Regions from separate parts of the Homo sapiens genome. Here region 1 is linked to region 2. Evidence: promoter capture Hi-C in 16 types of primary human blood cells and fetal thymus (Javierre and others, 2016). All regions are on one chromosome and are shown on one strand. Each heading gives the region's core, a stretch centred on a gene start or on the middle of the fragment in contact. The rest is flanking DNA. Distances are from core to core; before and after follow the strand shown.

What was found. The method cuts DNA at HindIII sites, captures the fragments that hold promoters and counts their contacts. A CHiCAGO score of 5 or more calls a contact.
Region 1: a fragment that was not itself captured here is called in contact with the fragment with the promoter of MB21D2 in region 2 in 1 of 17 cell types (total B cells); the score reaches 5.2 in total B cells.

What each region holds. Positions count from the first base shown.
Region 1 is chr3:192,469,418-192,476,687 of GRCh38, reverse strand. The region is part of intron 2 of FGF12 (fibroblast growth factor 12); the gene reads left to right. Among named protein-coding and RNA genes, the nearest start is that of FGF12-AS2, 42 kb to the left of the region's middle. The HindIII fragment of the contact is 1,970 bases long and covers 2,847-4,816 here.
Region 2 is chr3:192,915,037-192,922,128 of GRCh38, reverse strand. It overlaps MB21D2 (Mab-21 domain containing 2), which reads left to right and starts at 4,273. Exons shown (of 2, transcript NM_178496.4): 1 at 4,273-4,499. The coding sequence starts at 4,289. RefSeq lists a silencer at 3,968-4,327 and enhancers at 4,978-5,307, 6,935-7,092. The HindIII fragment of the contact is 3,892 bases long and covers 2,509-6,400 here.

The DNA of each region.
Region 1 (7,270 bases), core at 2,582-5,081, 440 kb after region 2:
GACTTCAGGGAAGCCATTTTGCTTCTTTGTTCTCAGATCCCAAAGTTTGAGCTTCTTTCCTGCAATTTTGCATTATGTTGTATTTGTGGAGGTAATTCCATGAAAAGTCACAGTGGGGATTAATACCAACAAAATAAACAGGGGGCATATTACAGATGGCTGTGAGGCTGTTGGACTTAATGCCATTGATCAATTCATTCATTAATTATTTATCAAGTACTTCCCATATGTTGTGGTAAAATGATGAGTAATTCATCAGGGTTAATGTAGAGTGGTGGTGGGAGTCAGGCTTTAGACTCAAACAATTGGGATTCACATTTAGATTCTGCCACTTTTTTGTTAGAGACCTCTGGGCTTCATTTTTTTTTCATCTGTAAACAAAAATAACAATATTTTCCTCATAGGTAAGAACTAAATGGTAGTCACTGGGCAGAATCATTTAGGTAAATGGATGCAGAAAAAAGTTTCAAGATTGTAGCTATGATTATTTTTATGTTGTCCTGCCCTTTAAAATATAGAGCTCACATGTGATCTCTGAAGCCAATGTTTAGGCCATGTATGGAAAGTCTTTCGGGTGTCATCTCACCTGGAGCTGCAGGTGATCTCTTGGGGATCACGTTATTCTATTTTATGCTGTTTGATGATGGTTTGGGAAGTTCATAGATTGTTACATTCTTTGCTGAGTGGGCTAGGCTATTTTTCAGAAATATTTTATATATCTGCCTATCATTATCTATCTATCTATCTATCATCTATCTATATCATCTATCATCTATATCTACCATCTATCTATTATCTATCTATCATCTATCTGATCTATAATGATTTTAGGCTTCAAGTGGTGGACTTCTGGAAGGAAATTTTCTGACTATTAGGTCGGAATCGTATTTCAGACACATAGAAGTTGTGTTCGGTCCCTGTGAATTTCCCTATCACGAGAACAGCTTTTGCACTGACGTGTAATCCTTTCATTTCTTTGTCATTTAAAAATTATGATATGAGAAGATTTGGTCTAGAAAACATGGGCCTCTCCTGAAATACTGGAATCCATAATCACTTAAAGCACTCTGGCTTTTTCTGTTTGGCTTAGCTTTACAACTTTCCCATCAGTGGGTAGAAACATCTTTGAATTTGTGCTTTCCTTGTATTTTCTGTATTTATTTCAGTATTTCTGGAAAAATAATTCTTGGACCAAGCTGGTATTTCCAGTCATCTAAGGCTTGCAACCTTGTGCATCATGCTCTCTCATGCCCTTCACTGGCACCTACATTAGTTGTATGTTTTGTGTGCATGTCACTTTTCTGTGTCCCAGTCATTCCGTTTATAGATTAAGGGGGAAAGGTCTTCCTTGGATATGGGCGGAAGCTCTGGAAAGGCTCAGGAACAACCTATCCTTAATCCTTACTAATTTAGAGCTAGAATGGACCACTGATTAGGGTTACCTGGCGTGCTTTCAAGAGCATCATCATTCTTTACAACCCAACTTGCTGAATTGGATCAATGTAATATTTGTTCTGTTTTGATTTATAAACTAATGGTTGAAAGCTACTTTAATTCAAATTATATTCAATAGTACTTGAGATACAGAAACTCAATTTTAATTTACTTAAGCAAAGAAGGAATTGTTAGAAGGATACCAGGATTGCTCACAGAAAGAAGAGCTACATTAATGAGGTAGATATGGGATTTCAAGAACTAGGCAAAAGACTCAAGAGCCCACAGAACATTCTGTTAATTCTCCTACTCTCTTTGTGGGCTTTGTTTTGTTTTTCTTTTTCCTTTCTTTCTTTTTTTTTTTTTTTGAGATGAAGTTTCACTCTTGTTTCCCAGTCTAGAGTACAATGGCACGATCTCAGCTTACTGCAACCTCTACCTCCCGGGTTCAAGCAATTCTCCTGCTTCAGCCTCCCAAATACCTGGGACTACAGGGACACATCACCACACCTGGCTAATTTTGTGTTTTTAGTAGAGACAGGGTTTCACCATGTTGGCCAGGCTGGTCTCGAACTCCTGACCTCAGGTGATCCACCCACCTTGGCCTCCCAAAGTGTTGAGATTACAGGCCTGAGCCACCGTACCTGGCCTTCCTTTTTCTTTATACCTTTTGGGCATGGCTGCAGTTTACTACATCTGTGAACCCAACAAAAAAGGTAGCAGTTTTCTCCAACCACTTCAGTATATGGAAATTCAAGGAAGGACTCTATCATCCTAGATTATGTTCCTATCCAAGCACCAATCACTGTGACAGAGAAAATGAGGTGCTATAATTGGCCAAATCTGGGTTATGTGCTTAAACTTGTGGTCTGGGAAGCCAGTGTCCTATGATTAAAAGCCTTAGAAGAATTACTTGCCCCTAAAATGAGATGAGTGTTGTTCCTGGAAGTAGAGGAAGAAATTCTGAACTGACAAAAACAACAGATGTCCAATACACAAAGGAGAACTAATTTTTAAAGTTTTAATTTCTACATCGTTAAACACAACCTGTTTTACTTTATTGCAATTATATTAATTCAAAATATTTATTTAGAACCTTTTAATGTGCCAAACTATAAAAAGGCAATATGATATCATTCTTATCCTTAAATTAAAATAAAATCAGTCTTCAATAATTTGCCCTATGCATAAGGTTTTCTTCTGTGTTCTGTGTGAAGACCAACTATAAAGCTGAGTGGCTTACAATAAATATTTAATTCATGCTCACACACCATGAGCGCTTCAGGGCATGAGTCTAGGTGAGTGTAGTTCTGCTCTATGTTTCTTTGCATTGTGGAACCTTTACTGAAAGAGCAACAACCCCTGTCTGGAGACATGATATTCTCATGGTGGAGGGCAAGAACAGAAAAGCTTCAGCCATCCACACAGTTACACTAAAGGCTTCTGTTTAATCATGGCAAATGTCTGCTCACCGTTCTTTTGGTCACACGGCCAGTGCATATCACATGGTGGCCAAGCGCAGAATCAATGAGGTGGGAATGTGGTTCTTTCCCAGAGAATGTATGACAAGTCATTTGACAATAAATAGAGATGTATAATCCTGTTTTAGAGAGGAAACATGATTCAGGACAGTAACCCAAAATACTACACTTACAAAGTAATATTGAATTTTCACTAATTCATTTCTTAAGTGTTTCAGAAATGACATATTGGTATATAAGTAATAATTACCATGAGTTTTCTTTCACGTAGATAGAAATTAGATAGAGTGTAACCAGCTAAATAATATTTCTGTATTTCATTTCCTGGATTCACCAGCCATGTATACAGCCTTTAATGACCACTATGCCTTTAGTTACCCCATAATAACCATCAACTCATGATAAGGGATGGCAAGTAATGTCATCTGGTCTAGAAAACTTGTTGGAAGTAGGCATGGGAATAAATTAGTGAAAGCACAAGGAAATCAGTGTGTCAGCCATTCTGAAGGTTAGGTCAAACTTCTGCAGCTTGAGGGGTGAGGTGTGGTTGATAATTTTAAGTTACAATTGGCTCCAAAACATACCTTGTATCTTGTATTTCCTGTTTCAATCAAACATTTTTCCATAAATTGAACACAACCTAAGAGTTAGAATTACAAAGATGAGTAAACTCATAGGCTCTGAACTGAAAGAAATCACAGTGAGTAAAAACATGTCAATTGTAGAAGTTTTTTCAAGTACAGAAACGGCATTAAAGAGAAAATGGCTAAATCTTTCTGGAGCCTGCCATGAAGGAGAGAGACATAGGGAGAGACTTCTCAGAACAGGTGATACTTGAACAGAATTTTGAATAATGGGATAGGAATTATTTAGGTAGAAATTACATTTGTACTTCTCAATACCAAGTAAAGAGAATAGCAAGTACAAACTCGAAATCATGGAGACACAGGCTTTGTGTTTTTGTCTTTAACACCCCTGGTAGGAACGAAGGGCAAGTAGTGGGAGGAGGTGAGGAGACAGGGCTGAGGAGCCCAGCAGGGAGAGCAAGAGAATTAGAGAAAATGAGACATCCCTCTTCCTGGAGCAGAGTGTGAATGACTCTCTCCCTTCCTACTCTTCATTCCTCTGTGGAATAGCTGGATGCTGTTCATGAGTTTTAGCTTATTAGCCTTTTGGGAATTTCCAGGGTGTTGTGAGTCTTTGGAGGCCCTGGAATGTGGGCTTTGGGGGAACCTTTGGACTCTAGCAGAAGACAGAAATCAGAGGGAGAAAAAGCCAGGTGACAGTATGGAGTGTCATCCAGGTACCATGTGGAAGTGACAGTGTTAGGAAAGGAAATGTTAAGTTTCATTCCAAGTATCTGAACCTACACTGGTGTAGCTGGACTGGATGACCGGAGAGGCCTGACCCAATACGGACAATAAGGGAGTGTGGTGTCTACAGATTTAAAAATATTAGGCTGGGTGCGGTGGCTTATGCCTGTAATCCCAGTACTTTGGGAGGCCGCGGCGGGCAGATCCCGAGGTCAGGAGATCAAGACCATCCTGGCCAACATGGTGAAACCCCGTCTCTACTAAAAATGCATAAAATTAGCCGGGCGTGGTGGCAGGCGCCTGTAGTCCCAGCTACTCAGGAGGCTGAGGCAGGAGAATTGCTTGAACCCGAGAGGCAGAGGTTGCAGTGAGCCGAGATCACACCGCTGCACTCCAGTCTGGTGACAGAGCGAGACTCCATCTCAAAACACAAACAACAACAAAAACAAAATTAATAAAGTGAAATACAATCTATAGGCTTTTTTTGTTTTAATCAGCATGTGCAGGTACTTGATAACATACTCTTCCCCTTAAAAATCTTCTGTTGCAGTTGCTTACAGTTGAGTTTTTAGAATAAATATGTAAGCTTGAAATTCTCACATTTTAAAATCATGTATCCTTGAACACACTGTATTCTATCTATATGAAAGCTAATTTAGAGACTTCCCAGTTCCACAGTCGGTCCTCAATACATGCAAACTCAGCTACACATGTTCATTTTGAGCATAAATTAGCCATGGCTCAGAATATCCCAGCTCACTTTGAGAGCAGCTTATATCTATCAATTCCTGGATTTAAATAGTAGATTTGAAATCAACAATAATAACACAGTTTGTGAAGATGAAGAAGTAATTTGAGTTACTTCAATTCTGTGACCACTTGAAGAGCTTTTGTGCCTAGCATTTAAATCAGTGAAATAAAATATGAACCATGGTATACAATTTTTCCCTTTTCTAAAAAGTATATGAATGTAATTGTTTTATTTCTTCTCATTACATTATTTTTATTTTACTGCTGGTTTCATTATATATAGAATTGAATAAACACTTTTTCACTGTTTGCAAATTTCTCTATTAGTATTATGATTACAAATAATTTTGTTGCATATAGGAGAGAAATGTTAAAAAGTAATTTTTTTCTGGTGTCATATGTAGTAATTATACCACTGCTTGGCTCCTAAAGCTAAGAATAGAAATAGGGACTCAGAGAAAGCTCTGTTCCCGGGCTGAAAACTGCATCTGAATAAAACATTCCCAAGAAGTACATGTCTGCAACCTGAGCGAGTATGATGTTTATGGAGCATCTAATCCTTGCCAGGCACCGTTCCTAGTACTGGTAACATCACAATGAACAGGCCTTGAAGAGCCATACATTCTAGTGGGGAGAGAGTGAAAGTCATCATGTAAAGTAAAATACTTTAAATGAAACAACCAATGAAATAAAACTGCACTGGGGATAATAAAGGGTGGAGGAGAGGTAATTTCAATAGGTGGTCAGGCAAGATGTCTGGGGAAGTGCCATTTGATGAGAAGCCGGAGGTGTGAAACTGTGGAGGAGGAAGAGTGAAGACAGAAGGGTCAGCCGCAGCACAAGCCCAAGGAGGTCATGCTTCATTTGTCCAGAAGATGGAGAAAGGGCTACAGTGACTGGCGTAAAATGAACATGGAGAATGAAGAGATTAGTTTTCCCTTGTGGGAGAAAAAGCCCAAGGAATAACTGACGTACCCTGATAATGATGAATGTTCACGACAGTTATCAAACTCCGTTACTAGGCCGGGTGTGGGGGCTCATGCCTGTGATACCAGCACTTCAGGAGGCCGAGGCAGGAGGATCACTTGAGGTCAGGAGTTCGAGACCAGCCTGGCCAACGTGATGAAACCCCATCTCTACTAAAAATACAAAAATTAGCTAGGTGTGGTGGCGGTCAACTTTAATCCCAGATATTCGGGGGGCCGAGGCAGGAGAATCACTTGAACCTGGGAGGCAGAGGTTGCGGTGAGCCAAGATTGTGCCATTGCACTACAGCCTAGGCAGACAGAGTGAGAACCTGTCTCAACAACTACAACAACAACAACAACAACAACAAAGTTCCATTACTAAAACAAGATATTTAATAGAGCCAATGTTGGATTTTCAAAGCATTGTAATGCATTTAGATTGTTCTCGCATGTCGTTTTGAATTAAAATATCTTCAGTGCTGAATTTTTTAAAAAAACCTCTTACCCTTTAGCTTCTGGAGGCCTTGAATGACAATAAATTTAATATGAGTAAAAAAATTGTTTTTAAGTTAAAGACTGATCTTATTATTGGCCTTTGATGATTTCATTGACTTCTTACACATTGCCTACTTTGATTTTTACCTCCAGAGAGGACATTGGAATTAGTTACACTCTCCAGCGCATCACACATCATTATCTTGGTTCAGTGAAAATGCATTTCTCTTATTTTGTCATACTCTTTCCCTTTATATCCAGTTCCATTCCCCTTCCCATCATGATATGCAGAATCTGATATGTGCCAAATATACACACATAGCTTTGTAAAACAGATAATTTTTATGTAGGCGTGTGTTTTAAATTTACATAAGTGGTATTATTATTGATCTCCTGACTCTTCATTCAACACTGTTTTTGAAGTCTATCCAGGTTCAGTTTATTGCACAGTGCCCACTTTTTATATCCATTACCTTTTATGTTTCCATCCCCCAGTGATGGACACCTAGGTTGCCTTCAGTTTCCACAACTACAAACATTGTGGGGACGGTTATTACACACATTCCTTTATAGACCTTGGGTAAATAGCACAGAACAGATTCTCTGGGTCATAAAACATAGAGCTACTTAATTTCACTTAGCCTAATTTAGATCTTACACAATTCTACTTAGTTTGGTAAACATACACACTTTTGTGTTGGCTGAGTAGGTTATTGTGGAGGACAAGCTCTGCTATTGATTGTCCTCTGGGAGCCAGGTTTCTCATCTTTTGAGAAAAAGTTACAGGTAAAGAAGGAAGGCTATCATGAGCCCTCTGGTATTTGATTGG
Region 2 (7,092 bases), core at 3,024-5,523:
GCTGAGAGTTTGCCACAGAACTTCAGAGCTGTATTTAACAACAAACAGCTCCAGAGAAGCAAGATGAAGACTTCTTTCACATGCTAATAAAATTTGGGAGTTGGGAGTAGAAGGGCAAGTTCTACCTCTAAGTGTGACAGCAGTTTGGAAATGCAGGCTGTTACTCTGTTCTGTTTGATGCTGCAAGAGCCAGCAAAGGAAAAGCCTACCTTAGTGCTTGTTTAGATGGTAGACTCCACTGACCTTTGTCCATCTGTCAAAATTCTAGAGATATGCATTTTTATTCAAGCCTCAGACACTCTTTAACATCTTCTAATAATGATTTTCTCTCTCTCTCCACCTTCCTCTCTATCTCTCTTCCTTCTCTTAGGTCATATAACATACACAGGGAGAAAAAGGCATAAAAATTGGGGCATTTAATTAAATGCATGCAGAAATACTTACATTTATAACAACACTTAACTAAATACTGGGAAACCATAGATAGCTTACATTGAGATATTTAAATTGTAGCAAAAATCACCTAAATTCTGACTTCTTGGACTTTGAGGGATGGTATTAGTTCATTCTTTTTTATTATTATTTTTTCTGAGAAGGAGTCTCCCTCTGTTGCCCAGGCTGGAGTGCAGTGGTGCAACCTCGGCTCACCATAACTTCCACCTCCCGGGTTCAAGCGATTCTCCTGCCTCAGCCTCTCAACTAGCTGGGACTACAGGTGCATGCCACCATGCCTAGCTAATTTTTGAATTTTTAGTAGAGATGGGGTTTCACTATGTTGGCCAGGCTGGTCTTGAACTCCTGACCTTGTGATCTGCCCGCCTTGGCCTCCTAAAGTGCTGGGATTACAGGTGTGAGTCATCGTGCCCGGCTTCATTCATTCTTTTATATATTCATTTGAACATATAAACTAAGGTCATAAGATGGGTCAAGAACTAAATTAAATGCAGTGTTTACACAGGTGAAGAAACACAGTACTTGCCCTTGAGAAGCTCAGAGGTTAAAAAGTCTCCCAATAGATCAATTCAGGAAATTATGGTTTTTGATCGTTTTTCTCTATTCTTCTAATTCAACAAGGGATATTGACACAATCTTATCAGCGTTCTATTAGAGCCTAGGAAGGTGTTAGTTTACCATCCAATTACATTATCTGGATATGCGGGCTCACTGAGGGTCCATGATTCATAGAAATCTGATCTGGCTGACGGGAAGGAGAACAGACAATGAGGAACATCAGAGAGACCACTCACTCATTCAAACCCCCAGGGTCCAGCACTACGGCACAACAGGAATACTTTCTGCTAACAACCTGTTGTTTCTTTATGGATATAAATATCATAAGAAAAGGTAAAATTAAGGGAAGATTAGTGATGCCTCATTCATATGTTTGGAAATTAACAAATAAAAAGTGTTTCGATTTTGTTGTCTGAAGTATTTCTTAACTGTACATGGTTTGGAGGTAACTAGAACCATTCTGCTCTATGGAATGACTGCCTCAGCCAGCTGTCGCACAGGTGCCTGCCATTGATCACTAGTGAAGCACTGACAGATGGGAGTGGATCACTTTGTGCTGGAGTTCCAAACACTTATGTGGCTTCTAGTACTGCCCAGGTAATGTTAATATCCTCTCAGGATGAGAAGTCAGGGCAGCATAGCAGAGCTGCGAAAGCCAGAGCTTGCTTTGTTTGTTTGTTTGTTTGTTTGTTTGGAGATGGAGTCTCACTCTGTCACCCAGGGTGGAGTACAGTGGCGCGATCTCGGCTCACTGCAACTTCCGCCTCCTGGGTTCAAGCAATTCTCCTGCCTCAGCCTCCCAAGTAGCTGGGACTACAGGTGCACGCCGCCACAACTGGCTAATTTTTTGTATGTTTAGTAGAGATGGGATTTCATCGTGTTACCCAGGCTGGTCTCGAACTCCTGAGCTCAGGCAATCTGCCCGCCTCGGCCTCCAAAGTACTGGGATTAGAGGCGTGAACCACCACGCCCTGCCTAAAAACCAGAGTTTTTAAGTCACTTCCTCATCAGTCCACCAGCATTTATCTAGGCATGGATCCTCTCTCTTTCATACTGAGTGGGTGAGGAAGTGTGTTTCAAAGAGAAGGAAACGAAAAGTAAGAGAAATTAACTGGTTATGCCACAATTCTTCACTCATTACTTGATTCAATAAACATAGAGGACCCTTCGGTAGGACCATATGCTGCAGGAAATACAAAGATGAATAAGATGTAGCCCTCATCCCCAAGAATCTTTTAGTCTAAAACTTGCATTAACAATGATGAAGTGGTCAGGTGTGGTGGCTCACGCCTGTAATCCCTTTGAGAGATCTAGATGCAAGGACTGTTTAATCCCAGGAGGTTGAGGTTGCTGTGAGCCACGATTGTGCCACTGCACTCTGGCCTGGGCTACAGAGGAAGACCCTGTTTCAGAAACAAACAAACACACACACACACAACCCAAAACAAAAAGCAATGATGAAGCAAGGTCAAAATTCATTAGCATCATATGAAAGCTTCTGAGAGTAGGTTCTGAGGAAGGAAAAGTTGCCACCAGCTTGAGGGGAGGGTCTCCGGAAAGCTGTAAGAAAAAGGCAGACGCGGATTGGTTTTGGTGTAAACGGAGTAAAGAAGAGAGGAATTCCAGGGGGAGGTCAGTGGTCAGGTCTGTGTTTTCTAAAGATCACTCTGGCAACAAGTTGTTACTAGATTGAGGAACAGTGAAAGAATTAATAACAATAATAGTAGAAGCTGATAATAGCTAAGTACTTATTATGTCAGTCCTTGAACTAAGTGCTTGACCTGTTTTATCTCACGTAATCCTTAAAACAACCTGTGAGACAGGAATTATTATTCCCATTTTATAGGGGAAGGCATGGAAGAGTCCGTACTTCCTTCCATGTCTAACAAAACAATTTGTATTCTTGGCCATGAGAACTCGGGTAAGAAAGTGAAACAGACCTGATCTAAATCAGGGACTGTGGGATAGAGAAGAGAGATTTTGGAGAATTAGGGAGGAAGATAACCTATGTTTCTCACAGCCAATGGGCCTCCTAAGTGTTTGAATGATACACCCCATAAACACTAAAACCACCTCTGAGACTCTATTCTGCCTAAAGGACTATGACTTAGATTGAACCTGCCTTGTCATGTAAGCCTAACTCCATGGTAGGAGCCATGTCTTTTGGTTATCACTGTCACATTCTGTCACTCCATCTGGCAAATGGTGCGTACTCAAATTTTATCTGTTGAATGAGAAAATTTTCATCTTGTCATCCAACATTTCTTGGAACCTGGGGCAATACATTGTTTCCCCTCTCCCACACCCACACTTCAGTTTCCCTATCTTTATATTAGAGTAGGTTGAATCTCATTAACTCATTATATGTTAAGATAAATAAGCTGTTATTCAGGTCATTAATTACCTTGGGCAAAGGTAGGGATATCTAGGGGTTAGTGGGAGTGCCAATACTGGGTTAGATGTGGACCCTCTTTTTTTATACGCTCAATCCTATCATCTTGGCAATCCAAGAGGAAAAGGGTAGAAGACAGGTTTCATATTCCTTAAGGCAGTTTCCTTTACTATTTAAAGGTATTGGAGTTCTTGGGATAGAGAGGTAAACGCGCACAGAGATGTCCTCCCCCAGGACACCGCCCTTAAAATCAAACGGAGGAAGACTTTCTTCTCCTTGAATGCGCTTGGCAAACCCTGCCCAGAAAGGGGATGGGGGGACGGCCGTGGAGGTGGAGAAAGAATGCATCCACACCTCGCGCGTCTTCCCAAGTACGGATTGGCAAGTGGTATATGCGTGCAGACCTCTGTCATTTATTTATTTTCCTTTCCACTGGGTGCGCTGTCCCTTTAAATGGAGACGCTGGTGCTGGCTCCGTAACACCGGAGCCGGCAGCTTGTTGATTTCAGAGCTGGTGAATTTCACATTGTTTCCACTTCACTTTCCTCGCCCGGGGGAGGCTCCAGTTGGCTCTACGACCGCCGTTGCCGCTGCCAGAGAGGGCCAGGGCAGGGCAGGGACGCGCAGCATCGGGGCGGGCGTGGGGCCGGAGAAAAGGGTGTCGGGGCCACACACGCACCCTCGCTGCAGTCCAGCTCCTCCCGAAGCTCGCACGCCCAGAGCGCACGGAGCGGGGGACTGCCCGCCCAGACGCCCGCCCGCCAACCCGCCCACGAGCCGGGGCCAAAGCCTGGGAGCCTGCGAGGGGAGGAGGCCCAGGGGGGCGGGGTGGGGGGCGGGGGTGGGTGCCGCGCTGCCGCGGAGCTGCTACTCGGCGCGTTTTGCATGAAGATGGCGGCTCCCACCGCCAACAAGGCAGCCTCCCTGGGCTGTAACAACAAGCCTGCGTTCCCGGAGCTGGATTTCAGGTCGGGAGCTCGGGTGGAGGAATTGAACAAACTCATCCAAGAATTTACGAAGCACGACCAGCGGGAATACGACGACCAGAGAGCGCTGGAGATTCACACAGCCAAGGATTTCATCTTTTCCATGCTGGGTAAGGAGGAAAAAGGGGGAGGTGTGTGTGCGTGTGTGTGTGTGATGGGAAGCGGAGTAGAAAACCCATTGCCGCTTCTCGACCTCTTCCCTTCTGGGTTGCCTTCCCGAGCCGGTGCCTTGGGTATAAGCCATCTCTGTTCCGCCTCTCTCTTCTTTCTCCGCCGAAAGCCGAGCTGCCTGCCCTCCCCTCCTTACTATACTTTACGCCGGGTCTCCCTTTCCCCCTGTTCGCTTGCTCTTTTGTTAATTTCTCCGCCACCTGGGGCTGGCAGGCAGGTGAGGCGTTCGCGGTGAAGCGTTGCACTGTTGGGGGAAGCCCCTGGAAGCGAGTGCAGTCCAGGTGAGCCCCTGAGGTGCCTTCAGTTGAGGGATTTGGCTGCCGGAGGCAGGGACCTCCGCTTTCCCGACGCCGGCTCTTGGGTGCTCTCCCGAGCTTGGGAGCGGAGACGGCTCAGGGCTCTGGCTTGGCGCCCGAGCGACAAGTTGCTTCTGTCGTCTCGCGGCGCGGCGCTGTCATGCCGAGCCCCCGGTGGCCAAACTTGTTGGGTGTTCCCGAGTAACCCGCTGAAGTAGTCTAGGCGTCCGGAGTTCCTGCAACTTTGATTTGCAAATTGACTTCTCTTATGAAGCGATCGGAAGCATTTCCGGTGCTTCTTCAGGGCTCTCGCTGAGCTCGGAATTCTTAATTCCCAGCTCTTCCGTGACTAGGCGCGGAGCTCTGGCCGCAGAGGAGCGCCGGTTCCCTGCTCTTTGTGTATTGTCTTAGCGCTGGCCGAAAGAGGTGCCCAGAGTTTCCAACCGCGGAGACGTCGGGGGCTAGAAAATGTGTCCCCCACTCCCACCTCCAGCCCCTCACCTACGGCTCCTGAAACATGATTGAATGCTGTGTAAAGGAACATAATTGAGCCAGGCCCGGGAGACCGAGCCCACCCTCCCCAGGTGTCCTGCCGTTGGGATTATTGCTACTGAGGTGTAGTGTGAGTTTGCCAGGCGCCTGGGTTGTAACTTGCGGCTCCGCCAGCGGATCCGTGGCTGTCAAGCGGTGCGTGGCCGGCGGTCAACATTCCGAAGAACTGGTACTCCAGGGTAGCGCTGCTCTAACGCTCGTCTCTGGGTGCTCTCTACAAATAGATAAGCCAATTTTCCAGGTGTTGAAAAATTTGATTGGGAAAGGTCTTTTGGCCACAGACTAAGACAGGGCTTTTCTCTTTCTCCTGCAATCTAATTGGGTTTCAGCCGGCTGTTGCTGCTTCTATCCTGGGATACCTTCTTCCTTCTAGGTTTTCTTCTTCCTCACTGCCCAAGGACGGGGTAATACAGACTGAACGTGTCTGTGTCCGCTGGTAGTTGTTCACGCGTTGGGAAGTTAGATGAAACATGTTAAAACTCTAGGCTGGTTTTTACCTTTTGCGCCGCACTCTTCAAGTGTGTCTTACGTTGCGTATGAGGTTGAAAAACTATTGAGAGATTCAGCCGTTCAACTATGTAGATGAATAGATGAATTAAATATATATATATATATATATATAAAACCTGGTAGGAGTGAGCTTCCACAGGGAAGCCTAAAATGCTTACAAAGCCAAAAGCCAACACAGTGATTGTCAGGAAGGTGGGGCCACACACAGAAGGCTGAGCGCAGTTACTTAAGTTGTTTAGTTAATCATAGCCTTTCTCTGTGGCATAAATAATGGAAGTCTGCCATTGTGTTAATACAGCCCCCAGATCAGTTCTGATGTCACTTGCGTAGGTCATTTACTAGAAGAAGGTACTGGGTCACCACCAGTTAGGGTAGTCATGGGTCAGGAAATGGGATAATGTAGGGAGGGTAAATTTAAGTGCCTGGCTCATGAGGAACTTCTGTGCTTAACTCCAAAGCTGATACACTGAATCAGCAAAGCTTTTATCCAAATATAAAAAAGTAAATTATTCTAGGGTGCTTAATTTTTGCATGTGTTTAATGCCATGGGTGGCATTGTGTTGACAGGTAAACTAGATTTGCTTCTATTCCTTTTTACCCAGTTGACCTTGCAAGCAGTCTTTCTTGCCCCCTGGGAATTTAGCATTTCCACCTGCAGGAGAGAAGATTCAAGAGAGTGTCATTTAAGCCTTTTGCCCCTCTGGACACTAGAAGGCAGATGGCGAAATGAGCTTGCTTGCCTGTGTGTGGTGCTGCATTCATTTGCGAGTTCCTTGCTTTCCTTTAATGAGATGCTGGCTGCTCTACACAAGTGGAGGTTTGGCGACAGCAAGGGTTCCTATGTGGATTTACTTTTTCTAAAGCAGATTTTGGCTTGGCTTAAAGAACAAAATCATTTTTTTTATACACTTTGTTTCACTTGCCATAGCTTTGGTTCTTTGATGACTATGCAAATGAAGTCTCTTAATGACCCCTAGCTTGTTAAGGTGTTACTTGGGTGGTACCAGGCCCTCATTTCAGGGCGGGGGGGTGGAGGGTGGCCAGTCCTCTTGGCTTTGTTCTGTATCTGAGCTGCACCTGGGGATTGTTAGCAGCTTACAGATATTATCCCCTCACACAGAATGAAGTGGCCAACCACGAATTGGGTGCAAGCCTCTTTAGTGGAGCTGAGAAA